Regions from separate parts of the Homo sapiens genome. Here region 1 is linked to region 2. Evidence: promoter capture Hi-C in human tissues and cell types (Jung and others, 2019). All regions are on one chromosome and are shown on one strand. The core of a region is centred on a gene start or on the middle of the fragment in contact, and the rest is flanking DNA. Distances in the headings are between cores, read along the strand shown. Region 1 has its middle 36 kb from the start of NORAD. Region 2 holds the start of CEP250 (centrosomal protein 250).

Region 1 (4,614 bases), core at 1,437-3,936, 630 kb after region 2:
AAGATTCTGAGGGAGAAAACCTCCCATGCCTCTCTCTTAGCCTCTGGCGGTTGCCAGCAATCCTTGGCTTGTGGACACATCACTAATCTTTCTCTCCATCTTCACATCGTTTTATATTCTGTTTCCCTGTGTCTTCTCCTCTTCTTATAACGACACCAGTCATTGGATTTAGGGCCCACCCTAAATCCAGGATGAGTTATTCTTAAAATCTTGAGCTAATTACATCTGGAAAGACCCCATTTCCAAATAAGTTAATATTCTGAGGTTCTGAGGGGACATGAATTTTGCGGGGTACACTATTCAGCCCACTATATAGCATCATCTTTTGCTACTCTTTTGCAAATTCTATTTCTGTTGTTTATCCAGTGTCCATTTATGTGTGGGCAGAGTGGTCATTTTATAATATAAATCTCTGATGAAATGGTTAGACATTTTTCATGAGATAATCTTATTTAATCCTCACAGCAGTGCCGTGAGGTAGATGCTACTAAAATCACCTACTGTTGAGAGGTGTGCCAGTCAGCATTTGCTAAGTATGACGTGATAACAAACAACCCCAAACTCTCAGTGACTTACAAAAAGCCAATTGCTTTCTTCATCACATTACACATCACAGCTGTAGATTCACTGCAGCTTTGCTCTGTGTCTTTTCATTCCAGGGTCCAGGCTGAAGGTGCAGGCCCTATCCAAGACACAACATTTCCAGTGGCAGAGATAAAAAAGTAAGATTTCAGACTCAAACATGCAATGGCACTCCAAGTTTCTGCTTCGAACTGGCATGTATCTCTCTAGCTCACATTTCATTGGCCAAAGGAAGTCATGTGGTTAAGCTTGACAATGGGCTGGGGAAGTGCACTCCTTCCTCTGGAAGGTACACAAGTCACATGGCAACTGGCTAGGATGGATAATTCTCTTACTGGCCAAGGGAAGGGCAAATAATGGAGAAAAATAATACGTCAACCACAGGGGTTGAGTAACTTTCCCAAGATCAAACCACTGGGAAGGGACAGAGGCAGATTCAAACTCAGACAGTCTCCAAAGCCATAGTGAACTCCATGGCTCCCTACTGCCTGTTAGATGGAATCCAAATATATTTAAGCTTTAGGGCATTCCTGCAGCCTGGAGGGCCCTTCTACCTAATTTGTGTGCTGAATTCACTCTTTAAGGCTCCACTCCAATCTCAACTCCTTGGACTCACTCTTATTTGTCATGTGTTCCCTCTGCTCTAAGGCCCTTGTACAGTGTTCCCAAATGTTTGCAGTATTTTGGGATGAAAGGAGTGAGGGGCACAAGCTGCAAGTGGACTGTGCTCCTGAGGATGAGAGCACTTTGCCTACTTTTCCACCCCTCTAAACTAAGCTTAGTATCTTGTGCTTGGGTGACTCTGACAGGTCAGCCCCGCATGACTCACTCTGTAAGCCTTCAGCGCGGGTCACCACAAGGTCCTGGTTTAGGGTGTGTGAGTTGGTGGGTGGGGAGGGGAGGTGGAAATTAACTTTCACCTTTCAGGAACCTTTCCCTTCCCCAGGAGAAGGACAAGTGTAAGTCCTTCCCTTAAGTAGTCTGGGCAAGTCTCTACTCATCACTCCTAGGAGGACTGGGGAGGTCCTGGAAGGTGCAGAGGAGGAAGCTCTGAGAAGTAGAAACAGCACCAAACTGCACCATAGAAGACTTTACTAATTTGTCCAAATGACAGAATTTACCTTCTCTGAGCTTCAGTTTCCCCAGCTATAAAGTGGCAACAACACTGATCTTGCCCTCCTCCCTAAGTTGCTACAAAAAGACATAGTAAAAATCTTTAGGGTGCCGGGCAGGGTGGCTCACGGCTGTAATCTCAGCACTTTGGGAGGCTGAGGCAGGCAGATCACCTGAGGTTAAGAGTTCGAGACCAGCCTGGCCAACATGGTGAAACCCCATCTCTACTAAAAATACAAAAATTAGCCAGGCATGGTGGCAGGCACCTGTAATCCCAGCTACTTGGGAGGCTGAGACATGAGAATCGCTTGAACCCGGGAGATGGAGGTTGCAGTGGGCAAAGATAGTGCTACTGCACTCCAGCCAGGGTGATGGAGCAAGACTCCATTTCAAAAAAAAAAAAAAAAAAAAATCTTTAAGAATGCAGCCTTGAAATCGCACAGACTTGTACTGGAATCCTTCTCATAAGCTATGTGACTGAGAAAGTTATAGATCTTCATAAGCCATTACAGCTACCTCCCAGGGTGAGAAAATTATGTAAATAAATTTCCTAACATATACTAAGTACTCAATAATGTTGGCTATTCCTATATGAGATGATGAAACTTATTATTATATAGGGAAAGTCCCAGACGAGGACCCATTTTTGAACATTGAAAGGAGGGAGTACAGAGGCTAACTTTTCTTAGAATTGGTTGCTTCTTTTAGCCAAGTATAAGGTGTGGCTCAAAGGAATGAGGAAGCAGTTAATGAGGTGACAGGGCACAGAATACTGTTTGTCTTCACAGATCTTGGGGGAGGGATACAGTGGTTAGCTGACCTTCCCAAAAGATCAGAGATCCTGGTGTCTTGTCCACCCACAGATGCAGGCCACTTGACTCTGTCCTGTCCCCTCCTACCAGTCCAGTCACCACGTTCTGGTGAGGCTGCCTTTGAAATAATAATAACAATGGTACTTGTACTAATGATATTATTACTTTGAAGTGTATGAAGGCTTTCTAATACATCATCCCAGTTATCCTTCATTATCTCTCTCCCATTCACAGAATCCAGAGTTAGGAAGGATATTGCAGATCATTCTGCATTTTACAGATGGGATCTCTGAAATTTGAATAAAGGAAGGGATCTACTCAAGGGCTGGGATTTACCTGAGACTACACAATAAGTTAATGGCAGGGGCAGGACTAGAACCTGCAGCTCCTGACTACCAGCCTAGTGCCAGTGCCTCTTTCAAGTCACACTTGCATTGGCTTTCCATTCCCATGGCCTCCCAGTCTATTCTTTTTTTTTGTTTTTTGTTTTGTTTTGTTTTGTTTTGAGACGAGTTTCGCTCTGTCGCCCAGGCTGGAGTGCAGTGGTGTGATCTCGGCTCACTGCAACCTCCGCCTCCCGGGTTCAAGCAATTCTCTGCCTCAGCCTCCCAAGTGGCTGGGATTACAGGCACCCACCACCATGCCTGGCTAATTTTTTTGTATTTTTAGTAGAGACAGGGTTTCACCATGTTTGCCAGGCTGGTCTTGAACTCCTGACCTTGTGATCCACCCTCCTCGGCCTCCCAAAGTGCTGGGATTACAGGCATGAATCACCGTGCCCAGCCCCAGTCTATTCTTTTATCTCCTGGACCACTGCAGTGGTTTCCTACTGGTCCTGCCTGCCTCTGATCCCTCCCCACCCATTTCTTCTACACATACAGTCACATAATTGTCTGGAAGCACAGCTTTGATCTTGTCTTTCCCTTCCTAATAGAACTTGCCCATTTTTTCAACTTGAGAGGTCACCAGGATCCTAGTTCAATTTCCCAATGAAGACTTAATCTTTCCTTGAATACATATATTGACAAGGAGTTCATCACTCCCAAGGTGGTCCATTCCATTCTTGGGTAGCTCCAACTGTTAGGGAGTTCTTTATAGTGAGCTGAAATTGTCTTCCTGGATATCCCCCCACTGGAGGTGATGTGATGGAATTCTCTTTTTTTTTTTTTTTTTTTTGAGACCGAGTCTCACTGTGTTGCCCAGGCTAGAGTGCAGTGGTACAATCTCAGCTCACTGCAACCTCCGCCTCCCAGGTTCAGCAATTCTCATGTCTCAGCCTCCCGAGTAGCTGGGACTTACAGGCATGAGCCACCAAGCCTGGCTAATTTTTTTGTGTTGTTAGTAGAGACAGGGTTTCACCATGCTGGCCAGGTTGGTCTCAAACTCCTGGCCTCAGGTGATCTGCCTGCCTCGGCCTCCCAAAGTGCTGGGATTACAGGTGTGAGCCATCACACTTGGCCCCTTTTTGTTTTTTTTTTTTTTTAGACAGAGTTTCACTCTTGCTGCCTAGGCTGGAGCGCAGTGGTGTGATCTTGGCTCACTGCAACCTCCACCTCCCAGATTCAAGACATTCAGCCTCCCAAATAGTTGGGATTACAGGCATGTGCCACCACGCCCAGCTAATTTTGTATTTTAGTAGAGACGGGGTTTCACCATGTTGGCGAGGCTGGTCTCGAACTCCTGACCTCAGGTGATCCACCTGCTCGACCTTCCAAAGTGTTGGGATTACAGGCGTGAGCCACAGCACCTGGCCAATGGAATTCTTTCGTATCCATTCTGGCAGCAAATCTGTAGTCATTGTTTCATAGGAACCAGGTCCTGGATGGACTAGGTGCTGAGGAGAACAGCATATAAATTTGATATGGATCCTTCCCTCAGAGAGGGTGGCCTAGGAGTTTGCTAATGCAGAATTTTTTGTTTTGTTGATTAGACCTAAACGAAAGGAAACAAAGCAAATCCTCTTTCTGTATGATAGTCCTTCAGAGGTGTGGAGATAGTCACCATGTCTACTCTGTGCTTTCCCTTCTCCAAGCTATTTAAATCATTCATCATACAGCATGGCGTCCAGGTCCTCTACGTTCCGGTCTCCTGTAGACATGCTCCAGTC
Region 2 (4,850 bases), core at 1,044-3,543:
GCATGGTCAGGGAAGACCTAGTTGAGGAAGTATCATTTAAGCTGGGACCTGAAGGACAGGAAGGTACCAGCTAGGCCAAGAGCTGGGGGAAAAGTGGTCTAGGTAGCTGGCATAGTGTATGCAAACGCCCTGAGGCAGAAAAGAGCTTGATGTGCATAATATTTAGATTGTTTCATTTGTATTTCAAATATTGTTGCAGTGAACATTCAAGCACAATGCCTGTTGTGGGATTATTTCCCTAGGATGGAATCCCACACCACTGCTTCTTTGCATCGTTTTCTCTGTCTAGTGCCTGGAGATGTTCCTTTTCCCCTCTCTAGATAGTTTGCCTTTCAGAATCCGTGTCCTTCCTTCCCCTTTTACTCTCCACTTTCTCTATTTCTCAAATTAGCTATTAAGATCTTTTTTGTGTTCTTACAGGAGAAAGATAAAATATAGCTTTTAAGCGTTCCTTTCTCAGGTTACCTTTGGCTGTGGATTAACCTGAAGCCTTGCTGTTTCACTCGAGCTATCCACTCATTCACCCATTCACTCAGCACTTATTGAGCACCTATTTTGTACCAGGCCTTGTGCTGAGCGCTATAGTCAGATGACCAAATTACAGTCTCTACGCTCAAGCTCACAATCTCATGCAGCGCTTCCTAAAACGTGTTCCCAATTATCAGAATCACCCTGGGTACTTTCTAAAATGCAGATTCCTGGACTCCACCCCCGGTTTAGGGATTCTCTGGGGGTGGAAACCAAGAGTCTGCATTTACCAGTTTTGTTTTTAATTCCTACTAAAAATTGAGAACCACTGAGTGCAAGAGTGAGGCAGGTAAATGGAGTTTACAACTCTAAGAAAGTGCATTAACAATTTATACACAAGGCCGGGCGCGGTGGCTCACGCCTGTAATCCCAGCCCTTTGGGAGGCCGAGGCGGGAGGATCACGAGGTCAAGAGAGATCGAGACCATCCTGGCCAACATGGTGAAATCCTGTCTCTACTAAAAATACAAAAATTAGCCGGGCGTGGTGGCGGGCGCCTGTAGTCCCAGCTACTCGGGAGGCTGAGGCAGGAGAATTACTTGAACCTGGGAGGCAGAGGTTGCAGTGAGCCGAGATCGTGCCAATGCACTCCAGCCTGGCGACAGAGCAAGACTCCATTTCAAAAAAAAAAAAAAAAATTTATACACAAAATGCTACAGGAATAACGCATGGGTCCTATTGGGAAGAAAAAGTTCTCTAGAAGTCAGGCTTAAGCAGAACTGCAGCTCCGGGACGGATTAAGTCAGGTAAAGGTAACACTCTGTGCAGAGACATGCAGACAAAACCGAGTGTTGAGTAAGTAACTCGCCTGTAAGTGTTATGCTGCCTGAAGCTTCTCGGAGCGTCTGAGCAGCAAGGTGAACAACCCTCAGAAACCGGTCGCGCTGCCAGTATTATCGCTAACCAGTGGCAGCGAGCCCCTTTGTTTCTCGGCAGTTGTAATTGTAGTCTGGTTTGTAGGTGGAGCTGTGCGCAGGCGCACCTAGAACCAGGTGACCTTGCACATGCGCTGTATGTAACACTGAAGCCAAAAGCGAAATGATTGAGGGCAATTTTTCTTTTCTGCTTCCGAAATGTCCCTTTCGCGAATCCAGAGACCCTGACCGTCCCCATTTCTGGCTAGGGATCTTATAATTCTTAAAATAATACCCCCTTTCCTTCAGGGCCTCTCTAGTAAGTCGGCTGCCAATACCCAACATGGCGGGAGGCCCTGCGCCGGCTCAGTCTGCCTATAGGTGCAGGACTTGGAGGGGCGGGCCCCTCCCAAAGGGCGGGAGTTTGGGGGGGCGGGGCCTGGCCCTCTGCCTCGGGGTGGGCTCCGCCCCCGTCCCCCGCAGGGCCTTAGCAGCGGCTGCCGCAGCTCAATCGCGGAGCAACTAGCCGGGCGTCTGCGGGAGCCGAGCGTGGTGAGGTGGGGCCTCAGGGGCAGGTGGGAGGTGCTCGGGTTAACCGTCCGAGGCCCGGAGACCCGCCCGTCTAGGGCGCCTGAGGGAATCCCGTTCGGGCAGCGGCCTCTTGTTACCCGGGAGGAACCCGAGGCCCAGAGAGGGGCTGGGACGCGTCGTTAGGGCCCGGGGCCCGCTTGCCTCAGCTTCTTGCTGCCGCCAGCACGCTAAGCTCCAGTCGGCGCCGAAGGAGAGCTTCCCGACCCTCGTGTCCAGTAGCCGCAATCCCAGGCTGGGAGGGTGAGGCGCCGCGCTCTGCCGCCCCCCCGCCCCTCGCTCCCTGTGTCCTGGCGGATTTGCACGTAATCTATCCGAAAGCCCAGTCCCACCCGCCACCCGACTCTGGAGCTCCCATTCTTCAGGACCCTGCTGAAGTATCGCTTCTCAGCCGCCTTCTCCAGGCGCAGCTGCATTCGCTTCTCGGTTTTTGCACTCGCTGTGCACCGAGTTACTTTCCCGGCCCCTCGTTGACACCGTAAGCTCGTTCGTTAGATGTTATGCCTTGCCTTTTTCATCTCTAGATCCCAGGGCCTAGCACGTGATGATAATAGTCATGGCTTACTGTACGGAATGATCACAAATTGTCAGGTGCTACTGAATGCATTACACATAAGGGCCCATTTATTTATTTATTTAGAGACGGAGTTTCGCGCTTGTTGCCCAGGCTGGAGTGCAATGGCGCGATCTCGGCTCACCTCAACCTCCGCCTCCCGGGTTCAAGCGATTCTCCTGCCTCAGCCTCCCAAGTAGCTGGGATTGCAGGCATGCGCCACCACACCCGGCTAATTTTATGTTTTTAGTAGAGACGGGGTTTCTCCATGTTGGTCAGGCTGATCTCGAACTCCCGACCTCAGGTGATCCGCCCGCTTCGGCCTCCCAAAGTGCTGGGATTACAGGCGTGAGCCACCGCGCTCAGCCAAAGGCCTATTTAATCTTCCCAACAATCCTATGGGGTGAGTTCTTTCTATAGCTTCACGTTTTACCCATGAAGAAACTGAGGTATTCATAGAAAAAGTAATTTGCCAGGAGTCCCACAACTAATAAGTGGATGGAGCTGGGAAACTGTCCCCAGGGCATTTGATGACTTGACTAGATTGCCTTTGGGTTTAATCAACGTCTGTTGAATTGATCTTTACTTTGGCCCTGGGAGTTATTGGAGGCTAGGCTTGTGATCAGTATTTTACCGCGAAGGCTTAGAAAGGAGAACTGGTCCCAGATTTATAGAGGTCACAACAAAACCAAGGCTACTGGTACGCCCTCTGTTCCTTTAGTTCTTCTATCTTTCTTTGCTCCTTTTCGATCAGAAAGCTGCAGACATAGGTGTCATTATCGCTCACTATTTAAGAAGTGCCCCTCACAGAGCTGTGAGTTCGTAGTCCATGCTTTAACTAATGTAATGTTCATGCTTTAACAGCTAATGTAATGGAGAGAGTGTAGAATTTGGAATCAGATTGGGGTTCAGTCATTGCTCTGCCACTGACCAAGCTATAAGTTATATGCCTCCCCCCACTTTTTTTTTTTTTTTTGAGACCTGGTCTCAGTCACCCAGGCTGGAGTGCAGTGGTGCGATCTGGGTTCACTGGAACATCCTGTCTCCCAGGTTCAGGCGATTCTCCCGCCTCAGCCTCCTGAGTAGCTGGGATTACAGGCGCCCGCCACCGTGCCTGGCTAATTTTTGTATTTCTAGGAGAGATGGGGTTTTGCCATGTTGGCCAAGCTGGTCTCGAACTCCTGGCCTCAAATGATCTGCCCAACTCAGCCTCCCAAAGTGCTGGGATTACAGTTGTGAGCCACCACACCCAGCCTGTTTTTTTGCTTTTTATATAGGTAATAGAGCTGTTAGCATTTTGCAAGACCATTGGTGATAATATGGATCATGTTACCTAATGTCCTATAATAGTCAGTAATAATGGGCACTTGTTATAAACCAGGCTGTGTTTTAGGTAGGAGCTGGGAATACAGCATTCGATAAAACAATGCTTTTGCACTTGTGGAATTTGCATTTTGGTAAGTATATTACATAATAATTAGATAGGGACAGAAAAAGCATGGTAAGGTAAATAAAAGTACTAGTGTTATGTGGAGAGGTGATAGTATTTTATTTATTTATTTATTTGAGCATCTTGTCCCAGGCTGGAGTGCAGTGGCGTGATCACAGCTCACTGCAGCCTCGAACTCCTTGGCTCAAGCAGCCCTCCCACCTTAACTTCCCAAGTAGCTGGGACTACAGGTGAATGCCACACAGCCAGCAATTTTTTTTTTTTTAATAGAGATGGGAATCTCCCTGTGTTGCCCAGGCTGGTCTTGAACTCCTGGCCTCAAGAGATCCTCCCACCTTGGTGAAACTCTGTCTCTACTAAAAATACAAAAAAATTAGCTGGTCGTGGTGGCACATGCTTGTAATCCCAGCTACTCAGGAGGCTGAGACATGAGAATTGCCTGAACCGGGGAGGCAGAGGTTGCAGTGAGCTGAGATCATGCCAGTGCACTACAGCCTGGGTAACAGAGCCAGATCCTGTCTCAAAAACAAAACAAAACACTGGATGAGATTACCTTGGAAATTAATGGAGATGGAGAAGAGGTCTGAAGCCTTGAGGTTTCCAAACTTTAGATACTGGGGAGATGAGAAAAGGCAGCAAAGGAGACTGAGTGGGAGAGGCCAGAGGTTGGAAGAGAGCAACAGAGAGGCCCCACATGAGATTTAAATAAGGAGCTGCATGCTAATTTGTTTTTTTCAGGAGTAAGAAACAAATTATGTCTGTACACAAATGTCTATACTGTAGTTTCTTTCTCAGTAAATAAAATGTTTGTGTCCTCAAGTATTTTTCTGTTTTTGCTTTAAGTGACAAATTCTATTTAATACCATTCTGCATCTTAG

What was found. Contacts are between HindIII fragments. The study calls those that stand out against the background at their distance.
Region 1: a fragment that was not itself captured here is called in contact with the fragment with the promoter of CEP250 in region 2 in 3 of the 25 tissues and cell types used here (liver, lymphoblastoid cells and spleen).

What each region holds. Positions count from the first base shown.
Region 1 is chr20:36,084,520-36,089,133 of GRCh38, forward strand. No RefSeq gene overlaps it. Among named protein-coding and RNA genes, the nearest start is that of NORAD, 36 kb to the left of the region's middle. The HindIII fragment of the contact is 7,451 bases long and covers 1-4,614 here.
Region 2 is chr20:35,453,305-35,458,154 of GRCh38, forward strand. It overlaps CEP250 (centrosomal protein 250), which reads left to right and starts at 2,294. Exons shown (of 35, transcript NM_007186.6): 1 at 2,294-2,447. It overlaps MIR1289-1 (microRNA 1289-1), which reads right to left and starts at 793; the gene lies at 650-793. It also overlaps a transcript of GDF5 not described here. RefSeq lists enhancers at 1,229-1,278, 1,539-1,688 and a silencer at 1,709-2,088. The HindIII fragment of the contact is 9,261 bases long and covers 475-4,850 here.